Linked DNA regions of Homo sapiens: region 1 is linked to region 2. The links are contacts of gene promoters, found by promoter capture Hi-C in human tissues and cell types (Jung and others, 2019). All regions are on one chromosome and are shown on one strand. The core of a region is centred on a gene start or on the middle of the fragment in contact, and the rest is flanking DNA. Distances in the headings are between cores, read along the strand shown. Region 1 has its middle 120 kb from the start of DCAF4L2. Region 2 holds the start of MMP16 (matrix metallopeptidase 16).

Region 1 (5,728 bases), core at 221-2,720, 330 kb after region 2:
TTTTTTTATGGAGGTGATTTTAAGCAGAATCATTGAAGATACAAGTAATTTTTATGATGTAGAAGGACAAATTCTTAAGTAAGCTGAGACAAGGTGAATAGATTAAAACACACACACACAAACACACACACACAAACAGGAAATTAGAGAAGGGGGCCATCATGAGACTTCTCAATACCTGTGCCTGAACCCTTAGTCAGGCAGTGAACCTTTGAGTATAAGGCTCAGTAGACAATTTTAAACAGGCCTTAGAAAGACATAATCTCCCCCAGAGAGTTTATCTCAACTAATAGGCTTTTTAATTTCAGAACATCTCAGAAAAAGTAAAGGTTGAAGACCTCTCTTCAGATATCAGATTAAATGGAGAGATTGCTATCCTAGAGTTGGAGAAAACCCTAAAAATGATTTCTAGAAGCTATTATAGAGGCTTTAGGCTCTGACTAGGTGCCCAGGACTGACTTTTGTGAAATATTAAAGAATGGGTTTTCTTGAGGTTTCAGAAAACTTGGTATGAGCTCAGGGAAAATTTTTCAATCCGTGTGGTTACTGAGATGTGTTAGAGGATCAATGATTACCAAAATAGTAGAGAAAAGTAAGAGGAAAAGATTAGGCTGCATGGAAGATACAATTCCATGAGCTACAGTGAAGGAATATGTACAAATTTGCCACATTTGAGTGCAACAACGAGGGCCAGCTGCAAAATTCTATGTTTTTAGACCTAATTCTGATGGAAAAGAAAGCTGAGGAAGAATTTAGGGAAGACTGTGTTTTAGATTCCCTTAGGAAAATTAACATCTTTTTATAACGAATTCAGGTGGATCCTTACTTTTGGGATATTTTAGTGAGCTTCTTGGAATTGTGTGCATCTGATTATAAGCAAAATATTTTAATAGTTTATTTATTTGAAGGAACAAGGGAAAAGCCTCACTTAAAATAGCTTTTAAAAAATAGTTTGATTTAGGTATTAGATATAAAAGTTTTTGAAATAATAGAGAATGTATTTATTTTAATATGTATGTTTTGTCCTCTAAGTCTGAGAGGTGGATCATGTTGGTAAGTGAGCAAGTGATGTAACTATAGAAATCTCTTGCAGTTTTTTTTGATTAGTGCATCCTCCAAGATAGAATATGGTATAAAAAAGATATTGCCTCCAATTCTCCTGTGTTTTGTATGTTACATATTCAAGACTACATGGAATAAATGCGCATTGTAAGAACATGCAAAATGGTACTAAATTTTGCACATGGTATGTGGAATATGGAAGGCTAGATATCAATAACTGCTTTTTAAACAATGCTTTTTAAAATTTTTGACAACACTTAAAATGAAAATGTTAAAAGAACAAAAAAACCCACCTCTTTAGCATTGTAATATTGCTTTTGCTTTTATTGTTTCAAGGTAATCTTTAGTTACCTTCCTTACCCACGTACATATTTTATTTTATTTTATTATGTATTATTATTATTATTATTATCTGAGTCGGAGTCTTGCTCTGTCTCCCAGGCTGGAGTGTGGTGGAGCGATCTTGGCTCACTGCAACCTCCACCTCCTGGGTTCAAGTGATTCTACTGCCTCAGCTTCCCTAGTAGCTGAGATTACAGGTAGCCACCACAATGCCCAGCTAATTTTTGTATTTTTAATAAAGGTGGGGTTTTGCCATGATGGCTAGGCTGGTCTCAAACTCCTGGCCTCAGGTGATCCACCCACCTCGGCCTCCCAAAGTGCTGGGATTACAGGCGTGAGCCACCACACCCGGCCCCAGATACATATTTTAAACAGTACCTTATATTTTTAAAGTCTTTACATCTTCAGTAAGTCAGTGTAGATGTACTTTCCTGATCAATTTTTTGTTGCTAAATCGTTTGTCTCTTTTCCCACCCTTGACATTACAAAAGAAGAAGAGGAGAAGGAGTAGGAAGAGGAGGAGGAGGGGGGAGAGGGAGGAGGCAGAAGAGGGAAAAAACTTATAGTTTATGTCTTCTTAAACTTTTTTCTTTTTTTGAATAAATCTTCCTTTGAATTAATGACTTGGAATTAAGTTACTGGTCAACAATTTTAGATTTGTTGTTTCTTGTCATGTCTGCCCAGGGAGATATTATACACTTAGTGTCCGGTATATTTTACTCATATACAGATATTTTAGACTATTTTAGATCAAAGTATGCTTGATGTTTAAATGGAAATATTAACAGCAAGTCTCAGTAGCTGTCATTTCTGAACATAAGCTGAAATTAACCTCCATTGATTAAGTCAGTATATTTAGAAGAGTGACCACATCAGATAAATTAGAGCAGTTTCCCCCACCCTCCAAACCAGGTGATCTAGTCAAGAGTAGGCTTTGGAATTAGACAAACTAGGGTCACATCCAGATGTGTGCACCTATGTGGTTTTCCTCTTCCTCATTAAGAATAAAAGGATAACAGTATGTATGTCCTATGGCTGTGGTTAGAATGCCATGAAATGAGGGCAAAATAATTGAGAGCAGCGACTGACGTGGAGCAGGGGCTTCATAAACGGAAGACCTTTGTGCTCTTCCTGGAGATCATGGAAATTTATTTAGGGTCAAACTGAAATCCAGTATGCATTGATTTCTGGGATTATAAAGTACTTAGTTGGCCCGTATTATATAGATAACAAGCGTGTTCAAGAGAGTTACATTTCTCTGATTATCTAATGGTTTGTTACCAATTCCTGATTTACTTTTGTAAAAGAGATGAGACAGTGTGTGCAGTTATGAACTAACGAGTGCAGGCATGAGTTTAATCATATTGTTTCTTTGTATCTGACACTTATCCATACTTTTGTGCACAGGTGGGTGTCTAAGCCCCTGTAAAACAATGTGCATTTTCTGGACAAATAGTCTTATTGCTCAAATTAAAGAAAAAAAAGAGCTCCAAATATTTGCAGTTTTATGTTTGACAAAGAAGCCAAAAATATTTGCCAGTTTGAAGAGTGTGCTATGCTTTGAGTGGAAAGTGCTAATTAGAAAACTGTTAGGTTATTTGAATGTGGAAAAACACAGACTGACCCCTACGAAAGGGTCACAGTTTAAAAAGGACTTGCATGATTTGCCTTTGAAGAAAGCACATTTATTTCTCTGGTACCTAGAGTCACAGAAGTAGGCCTAGGAAGAAAGAGAAAACTAGTAATGGCAAAGGATATCAGACATCAAACAAATATACACATTTGTACTGGAGTATATCGTTTTCCCTGTTCTCAAAATAGCTGAAATAGTATCATTAGGAACTTAATCTCTCCTGGGTAGAACACTGGCATCGCCTCACAAGATCATTTCCTGAAGGTTTGAGGAAAGCTCAAGCTTTATGATGTCATGGGCAGTTGAGGAGACCATTTTTTCTTTTCTAGCATAAAAATCATCATTTGAAAATATTTTAAATTTTTGTTAAATCAAAGATGGGCTCTATGAACATCCTAGTCACAAAGACAACTGTTAAGATTGTCAGAAATTCTAGATGTTTCATGCTGCCTAACCATTGCACAGCATTTATGCTTGTCTCTTTTTATCCTGTTGCCTTCACATTTCTTGCCCTATCATTATGTATGTTAAGAATTTTTTAAAAGAGAGAAAAATCACATAAACTTCACATTTCCTCAAAGATTGGAAAGAGGAAACAACCAACCAATTAACAGTACCCCAATATTAAATCACACCAAGAACCTTCACTATACAACCCATAGAATTGGTAAAAGGGTTTGTTTAACTTCCCAGATTTTTTAATTATGTGAACGCAAAGAAGACAATTAAATACCTTGTAACACATTTTGTTCAGGCAAAGTATCTGTGATTCACACACACCTGACTTTTCATTTGGACAACTGAGGGCACCCACGAAGTTTCACAGCTCATAAAGAGAGCAATCAGAGGATGCAAAGAAAAAAAGTTAAAAGGATGTAACTCAAAATTTTATTTTTCTCTATTGCCTATATATTTCTTTTAATTTTTTCAAAAAACTCACTGGAATCATCAAGCTTAACTGGACAAGGGTTAAGAATGGAATATGTAGTCACATACATGAAGACATCTTTTAGCCTCCCTCTTTTGATGCCCTTCAACTATCAATGTGACAAAAGTAGGGAGTACGTATCTGAGAAGCCCAGAAAAAGAAATAAAAATGTGAAAACAGTTTATACATTACATTAGATTAAGCAGGATAGCAGGATAAGCATTGAAACATAATTGTGTCACCATAAAGCCTTTTGAAAACTGACAATCCTTCAGTGAAAGTAATAAAGCATTCAAATACTTGAATGTAATCATAACCCCTATCATGGAGAGAGTTCCACTAGGCAGTGCTAGTACCTGATTTCTCCTGCCCCCACTGCCACAGCTGTAAGAGGCATTCGAACCTGAGCAACTCCATTTTGAGAGAGGGCTAGAAATAATGAGATTGAGAGCTGCTAGGCGGCATTCTCAGAAAGTGAGGCATTCCTAGCTTCTAGATGTTTACAGTTAACGGAACAAATTAATAATGTTTGCTAAACAGACCCAGACTTGGGAGTGTCCAGATATCCTGATATCTGGAGAACAAAGGTACTCCTAATTTTCCTTTAAAGATAATAATATCGATTCTTGTAAAATATAGTAATTAAGAAAATTAATCCTTTATCACAAACCCATGTAGCAGAACACATCTCCCCATACATACAAGCATGGTGCCTAGGGTGGATGCGTTCCTCCTCTTACTTTCAGGAACATCCTACTCTGTCTATGGAGTAGCTGTCCTTTCACCACCTTACTTTCTTAATAAATTTGCTTTTGCTTTGCACTGTGGACTTGCCCTGAGTTCTTTCTTGCACGAGATCCAAGAACCCTCTCTTGGGGTCTTGATCGGGGGACCCCTTCCCTGTAACATGGCCTATTCCACAGTCTCTGGCACCTATAAGTAACAAAGATGTGGCCGGGCGTGGTGGCTTACACCTGTAATCCCAGCACTTTGGGAGGCCAAGGCAGGCAGATCACCTGAGGTCAGGAGTTCAAGACCAACCTAGCCAACATCGGGAAACCCCATCTCTACTAAAAACACAGAAAATTAGCCGGGTTTGGTGATGCACGCCTGTAGTTCCAGCTACTCAGGAGGCTGAGGCAGGAGAATCGCTTGAACCTGGGAGGCAGAAGTTGCAGTGAGCCAAGACCGCAGCCCTACCATGCTCCAGTCTGGGCGACAAGAGCAAAACTCGGTCTCAAAATAAATAAATAAATAAAACTAAAGATGTAGCAAATATGTCACAGATGGAATATGATCAGGACTTCAGTCACCTCTACAAATCTGCTCAAGCTGAGGGGCTTTTCCTTCAGCACTGTTTGTTTCCTAATCTCATCCTGCTTGAAGCCTCAAAATAAGTTGAACTATCCTGCTCCAATATATTTTTCAGTTCCTTGGTTCCATATACTGACATATCACCAGCTACCCTGAGAGTCCACATTACTTCAGAGCATTTAAATGTATTAAAGGACTCTTCTTTCATATGCAAAATTACCAGTTTTTTTTATGCCATGTTAATGAACTATCCCAAAGCAGCTTTCCAAAGAGGAAAATATGCTTTCAGAGAGTAGTTGATGCACTGAGCAGAATCTATTTAAAATCCACTCACAGAAGACTTTGAAAACATTAATCAGCTACATGATGATCTGGGTTTTTATATTTTAAACTTCAGAGCATCTGGGAAGTAGCCACTCTTTAATCATTTCTCAAAAGTCATACTGCTC
Region 2 (5,272 bases), core at 1,268-3,767:
CCCTCCTTACTGATAGTTTTGCAGTGCTCAACTTGCACTCCATGTCCTTGATACAGTCTTCTAATATTTGGCTCAGTTAGCAAGGACATCACCATTTAGCACTGTTTTCTCATGAACGTCTTTGGTAAATAATTTTTACCTCCTCCTCTTCAATAGTATCTCAAAGACTAGGAACTGAGTTTAAACATTTTTTTTGTATCATTTTCCCTCTCTAATTTTGCACTTTACTAGATATAATGCACACATAAAAATCATTCTTGATTTATTGACAAATACTTCACTACATTTCGTTACCTTATATTGGCACAGAACACCATATAAATTCTATATAATGACATTACTTTCATGTTGCCTTCTAGCTGTTTCTTTTATAAAAAATCATCTCAACCTATGGATTATAAAATTGCTAAGAGCAGGAATGAATTTCCATTTGGAAAGTCACTGGAGTATAGCAGGAAAATCACTGAACTGGGAGTCAGGAAACAAAAGTCTGAACTCTGCCACTTGTATGGTTTGCTGGAACGTTATATTTTATTGCTATCATTTACTTCATCTGTAAAATAAAAACAAAATCCTCAGAGATGGTGTGAGAATTAAATGAGATACTATGTCTGGAAACATTCTGAATATTCTAATGTACTATACAATATAAGACATTGCTTTTTATTACATCTTCAAAATTATTTTGTGGGCAGCACATGCTGGGCACAAGGCAGACTGTCAGGAAGGTCTCCCTGAGAACTTCTTGGGTCTTGGGTCAAGTTGGGTGGGCATTTCTTACATTTTTACAGCAACAGCTGCAAAGTCCCATTCCTCAGCCTTTTTTTCTTTTATTGGATAAAAGTTATTGCAGTCTAATACAATTTTTGGCAAACCATTCTCAGAATTTTCCATCTGCTTACCACATAGGACCTCTTGTAGTCCTGCTTCTTGCCTTTCCAACTCACCCATGAAATTTGCCTTGTCAATTCTCTCTTCCACCTCACCGAGGTAGCTGTCATACCTGGAACACTCTTTATTCTTAACCTCGCCTGCTTTTCTTTCCCGTGGGCTCCTCTTCCCCTCTGCTGGCTGCCAAGGAGAAGCACATTTACTGGCATTAGCCCCCAAACAGATGCTTGCCTCGCTCCCTTCCCCCTTCCTCTTTCAGCCAAACCATCACTTGCCAAGGGCTGGTGGTTGCTGCCCCCCCTGTCCACTGCCTCGCACTGCTACAGCTCCAGTCCTTTCTGGCAGCCTCCTCTGAAGTTCCCTGCCCGCGTTCGCCCGTGCTTCTTGCCAGCCGCCTCCCCCTCTTGCCTGCAGCTCTCCTAGCTCCCGCCAGCCTCTCCCCCGCTCGGTCTGCGAGCAGCCTCTTCCTCCCGCCCTTGCCAGCTGCTTTACTCGCCTTTCCTCAGGCTGCTTCTTCTCCTTCTTTCCCCAACCCTTCCCCTGGCTCCCGCAGCCGGTTTCTTTCCAGCGCCCCCATCCCTCTCATCGGATGTTTTGTTAACACCCAGGACCATCTCTCCCGGGTCCCACTGTGCGCGTGTGTCCACCGTTCACTTGGAAAGTGAGCGTTTTCATCCCGCTTCTGTATTTGTCTAGTCCGCCACCAAAACCCTGTGCCTACTCCTCAAGCCTGGAAGGCGGAATGTAGCTATGGTAGAGGGGATTCAGGAAGACACCAGGCCACAGGCTCGGGACCCCAACAAAGTTTTGGACGTTCGGGATTTGCTATCTCAGTCTTCCCAAACTTGGTCAGCCCCGGCCACCGACCCGAGCCACCCAGGGGCGCTCAGTGACCAGGCGCTCCTCTGATTCCCAGCGCCCCTATTCTTCCAGGGCCGCTTCCTCAGGAATGCCGACCGCTCTCCAGGACCAGGGTTGGGCCGCTCCCCAGGCCCCACTAGGGTCCGCAGCCTGAGCCCCACCCAGCTCATGGCTGGAGAGGGGCGCACTCGTTTTTAGATGCGAGGCGGCAGGGTGGGCGGGAAGAAAGAATGGAGCCGCCCAAGTTCCTGGGTGCCTGCCTCGGGGATGCGGGATGGGAGATACTGTCGAAGAGCTGTGCTCAAACCAGGGCCCTTGTCGCGGGCTGGATACCTCCGGTGCGCCCTACCGTAGTGGGGAATCCTTTATGAGCCGTCTCCTTTAAGAAGCGCGCGTGCGTGTGTGTCGGGCTGTGTGTATGCGCGCGTGTGTGTGTGTGTGTCGCGGTGTGTCTCTGTGTGTGTGTGTGTGTGTGTGTGTGTGCGCGCGCGCGCGCGCGCCAAGGGCCCCGAGAGCCAGGCAGACCCCGGGAAGGAGGAGTTATGTAGATTACGGATGAACATTCTGGAGGGGAGCGAGGAGAGGAGGGAAGGAGAAGCAGAGGCGAGAGAGTGAGGAGCGGCGGAGGCCCTTCCCGCAGGAGCTGGGGGCGGCGGCGGCGGCGGAGGAGGAGGAGGAGTAGGCAGTGCAGGAGGAGGACGCACGGGCTGGAGGCGGCGGCGGCGGCGGCGGCTGCTGCTGCTGCGGCTGCGACTAGGCTCTTTGAGCCGGAACCGCCGGTGAACTTAGGCGCCACGTTCCCGGTGACTGACCCCGGAGGATGGTGAACAGGAACTACTGCTGACCCTGTCTTCGCCGCTGCCTCTCGGGGGCTGCCGAGCGCGGGGCCCCTGTCTCCTCCCCTTGCCCGGCTGTGGGTGAACCTGCAGGCTCCTTACCCACCCGGAGGACTTTTTTTTGAAAGGAAACGAGGGAGGGAGGGAGAGGGAGAGAGGGAGAAAACGAAGGGGAGCTCGTCCATCCATTGAAGCACAGTTCACTATGATCTTACTCACATTCAGCACTGGAAGACGGTTGGATTTCGTGCATCATTCGGGGGTGTTTTTCTTGCAAACCTTGCTTTGGATTTTATGTGCTACAGTCTGCGGAACGGAGCAGTATTTCAATGTGGAGGTAAGAGTGCGAGGGCTTTCTTCCTCCCCCCGCTGCCTGGGCTGCTCCCTGAAACATTTCCTTCACTCCTGGGATCCTTGTAGCTCAGAGCAGCCTGGGTCCCAGCACGTTGTTTCCCTTCCAGCTGTGGAGACCCTGGTTCAGTTTAAGGGTGTTTTAGGTGACGGATGCGTGTGAGACCCAGAATCCGTTATCCCCGGCAGCACAAAGCACGATGCTGCGCGCTCAAAGACACAATTGTAGCCGGTCCATGCTTTTCACCCAGGGAAGAGAAGTCCTACATATAGCAACCGTGTAGCTAAATAAGGCAGCTTGAGTTTATGATGGATAAACAGCTCGGGGAAGACAGAATTAATTCCCTGGCATCATGTGCTGCCTAGGTATTGTTCCTGAAATCTTTCTCCCAGTGTTTGGTGCCTAACAAAGGAGGTTAAAAATCAAAGAATCTAGAGGAGAGCGTGGGAACACTAGATGTGTTTAATAACATTACTTTGTGATAAAACACTTGAGAATCTTTTTTTTTTTCATTTAGACATAACTTAATACACTGTAACTAGATCTGGCTACACAGAGGACATGAAATCCATCTCTTTTTAAGTGTCTTCTTTCCCCCTCCCCCGCCAATTGAAAATAAACGTGGCCCAATGTAATAGTTTTGAGGTGTGTTTTTAATTTGATTTCACACTCTCGTGGCAAAACGGGGAGGTTTTAGACTGTCATTTGCTTTACTTTGATAGCTTTGGGAACAGACGGCACAAAGCAAAAGGGAACTTAAGGATAGGGACTTGTCAGACCTCTGCCAAAGTACTCTTCCTGTCATCAAGTCAGCACTGAAGCCAGTAATGTGCAATAAATCAATGAAAGCGTGTATACACCTGGGCTGTAACACAACTTTATCACATATACGGTGGGATACAAAGCCAGTAAGAGGGTCTTAGTAACATTTACTTCTTTTGATTAGATCTGATGTCCTCTGAACTCTCAAACGAATTATGAATAATTTTTTAAGGAATAATGTGATTTTTTTTCTTATATTGTTGATATTATGAAGCTTATTGTCATTTTGCTGGGAGTGTGTGTTTACACAATAGCAAGACCTGTTGCACAGTATTTGAACATGCTTCATGTAACCAATTGATACACAGAGTGTGCATAATAAATGCCATGTGTAAAGGCATATTCTGAATATAACTGTGTTTATAGAAACTGTTCTTAGGACTTCATGTAATAAGTCATGGTTAGTACAAAAAAAGTATTTGAAAAAGTAAGAGCTATTATCAAGAGTTAAAGACCTTCACAGATATTAAGTATGAATAAATTACACAAAAAAAACCCAATTTGAAAACTAAAAAGGTTTAACCCTTTGAAAAATACAACTTTATTTTTCTAGATAAAAAGAGAAAGGGGCTTGAAAGTCCAGACTTTTTTTATTGCAAATTTGAACTTTTGGAATTACGTGCCACAGATGGATTTTTGTACCTAACATTTAAATCAAGAGATAATTTAATGTTGAAATGAAGGATTAGTTCATAGGCTGGAGGAATTAAAGTGGCAAGCTGTTATTTATAATGTTATAAACAGAAGGGCCTATTGCTTCAGGTTGGTGGTGATGGTGGTGAGGTGGAGTGTGTGGGAGGTGGTAAAAGTAAGTGCAAGGTTGTGTCTTTCTGAATAAGGGAAGGGAAGGACAGCCTGGATTGATGGTTACCTGCTTTAGGAAAGTATTAGATTTGCTTTCAGAGGTTAGGATAACATGAGTTTTGATGATTATTAGATTTTTTGTGAGACTAAACATAAAAGATTGTATTTCTTTATATTGGAATCCCTCAGTAAGTTCAGATATTATTATGCAAAAAAGTTATGATTGTACTAACAAATTTTATTTAATTTTGGATTCCAATGACCCCTTCTCTTTCTTCATTAAGATGTGTGGGGAAAAATGGTTTATGGAGAAAATAGTTATTTTCCCATTTTTAGAGGATTTAAATTATTCTAGTCATATTTATTACACAGATTTAAGCCTGACAGATAAGTCATGTGCCATCTCAGACCTTTAAAATCTTGCTTAATAAAATGGGAAGTTTTTCATGGTTTAGAGCAGATTATATGCCTTAGTTTATGTTATCCTCAAATAGTATTTTTAAGCTCTTGAGCTCATTTTGGTTGGATTTATAAGCTTCTTTATGTGTAATGATACCCCCCCTTTTTTTTAGATTGTAGGAGTAGCTGCTAGTGAAATGGAAATATTGTCAAGAACACAGAATGACGGGATGTTTTCTGACATAAATTTCTGCCTGATTCACTTCTATTTGACTTTTTTTTGATAGGAAACACTAATGGGAAGAAT

What was found. The method cuts DNA at HindIII sites, captures the fragments that hold promoters and counts their contacts. A contact is called where the count stands out against the background at its distance.
Region 1: a contact is called between a fragment that was not itself captured here and the fragment with the promoter of MMP16 in region 2, in 1 of the 25 tissues and cell types used here (dorsolateral prefrontal cortex).

Annotation. Positions count from the first base shown.
Region 1 is chr8:87,988,740-87,994,467 of GRCh38, reverse strand. No RefSeq gene overlaps it. Among named protein-coding and RNA genes, the nearest start is that of DCAF4L2, 120 kb to the right of the region's middle. The HindIII fragment of the contact is 4,371 bases long and covers 1-3,655 here.
Region 2 is chr8:88,324,728-88,329,999 of GRCh38, reverse strand. It overlaps MMP16 (matrix metallopeptidase 16), which reads left to right and starts at 2,517. Exons shown (of 10, transcript NM_005941.5): 1 at 2,517-2,925. The coding sequence starts at 2,794. LOC105375630 (a long non-coding RNA gene) reads right to left here and starts at 2,156. Exons shown (of 8, transcript XR_001745653.3): 1 at 2,102-2,156; 2 at 903-1,071. The HindIII fragment of the contact is 8,411 bases long and covers 1-4,539 here.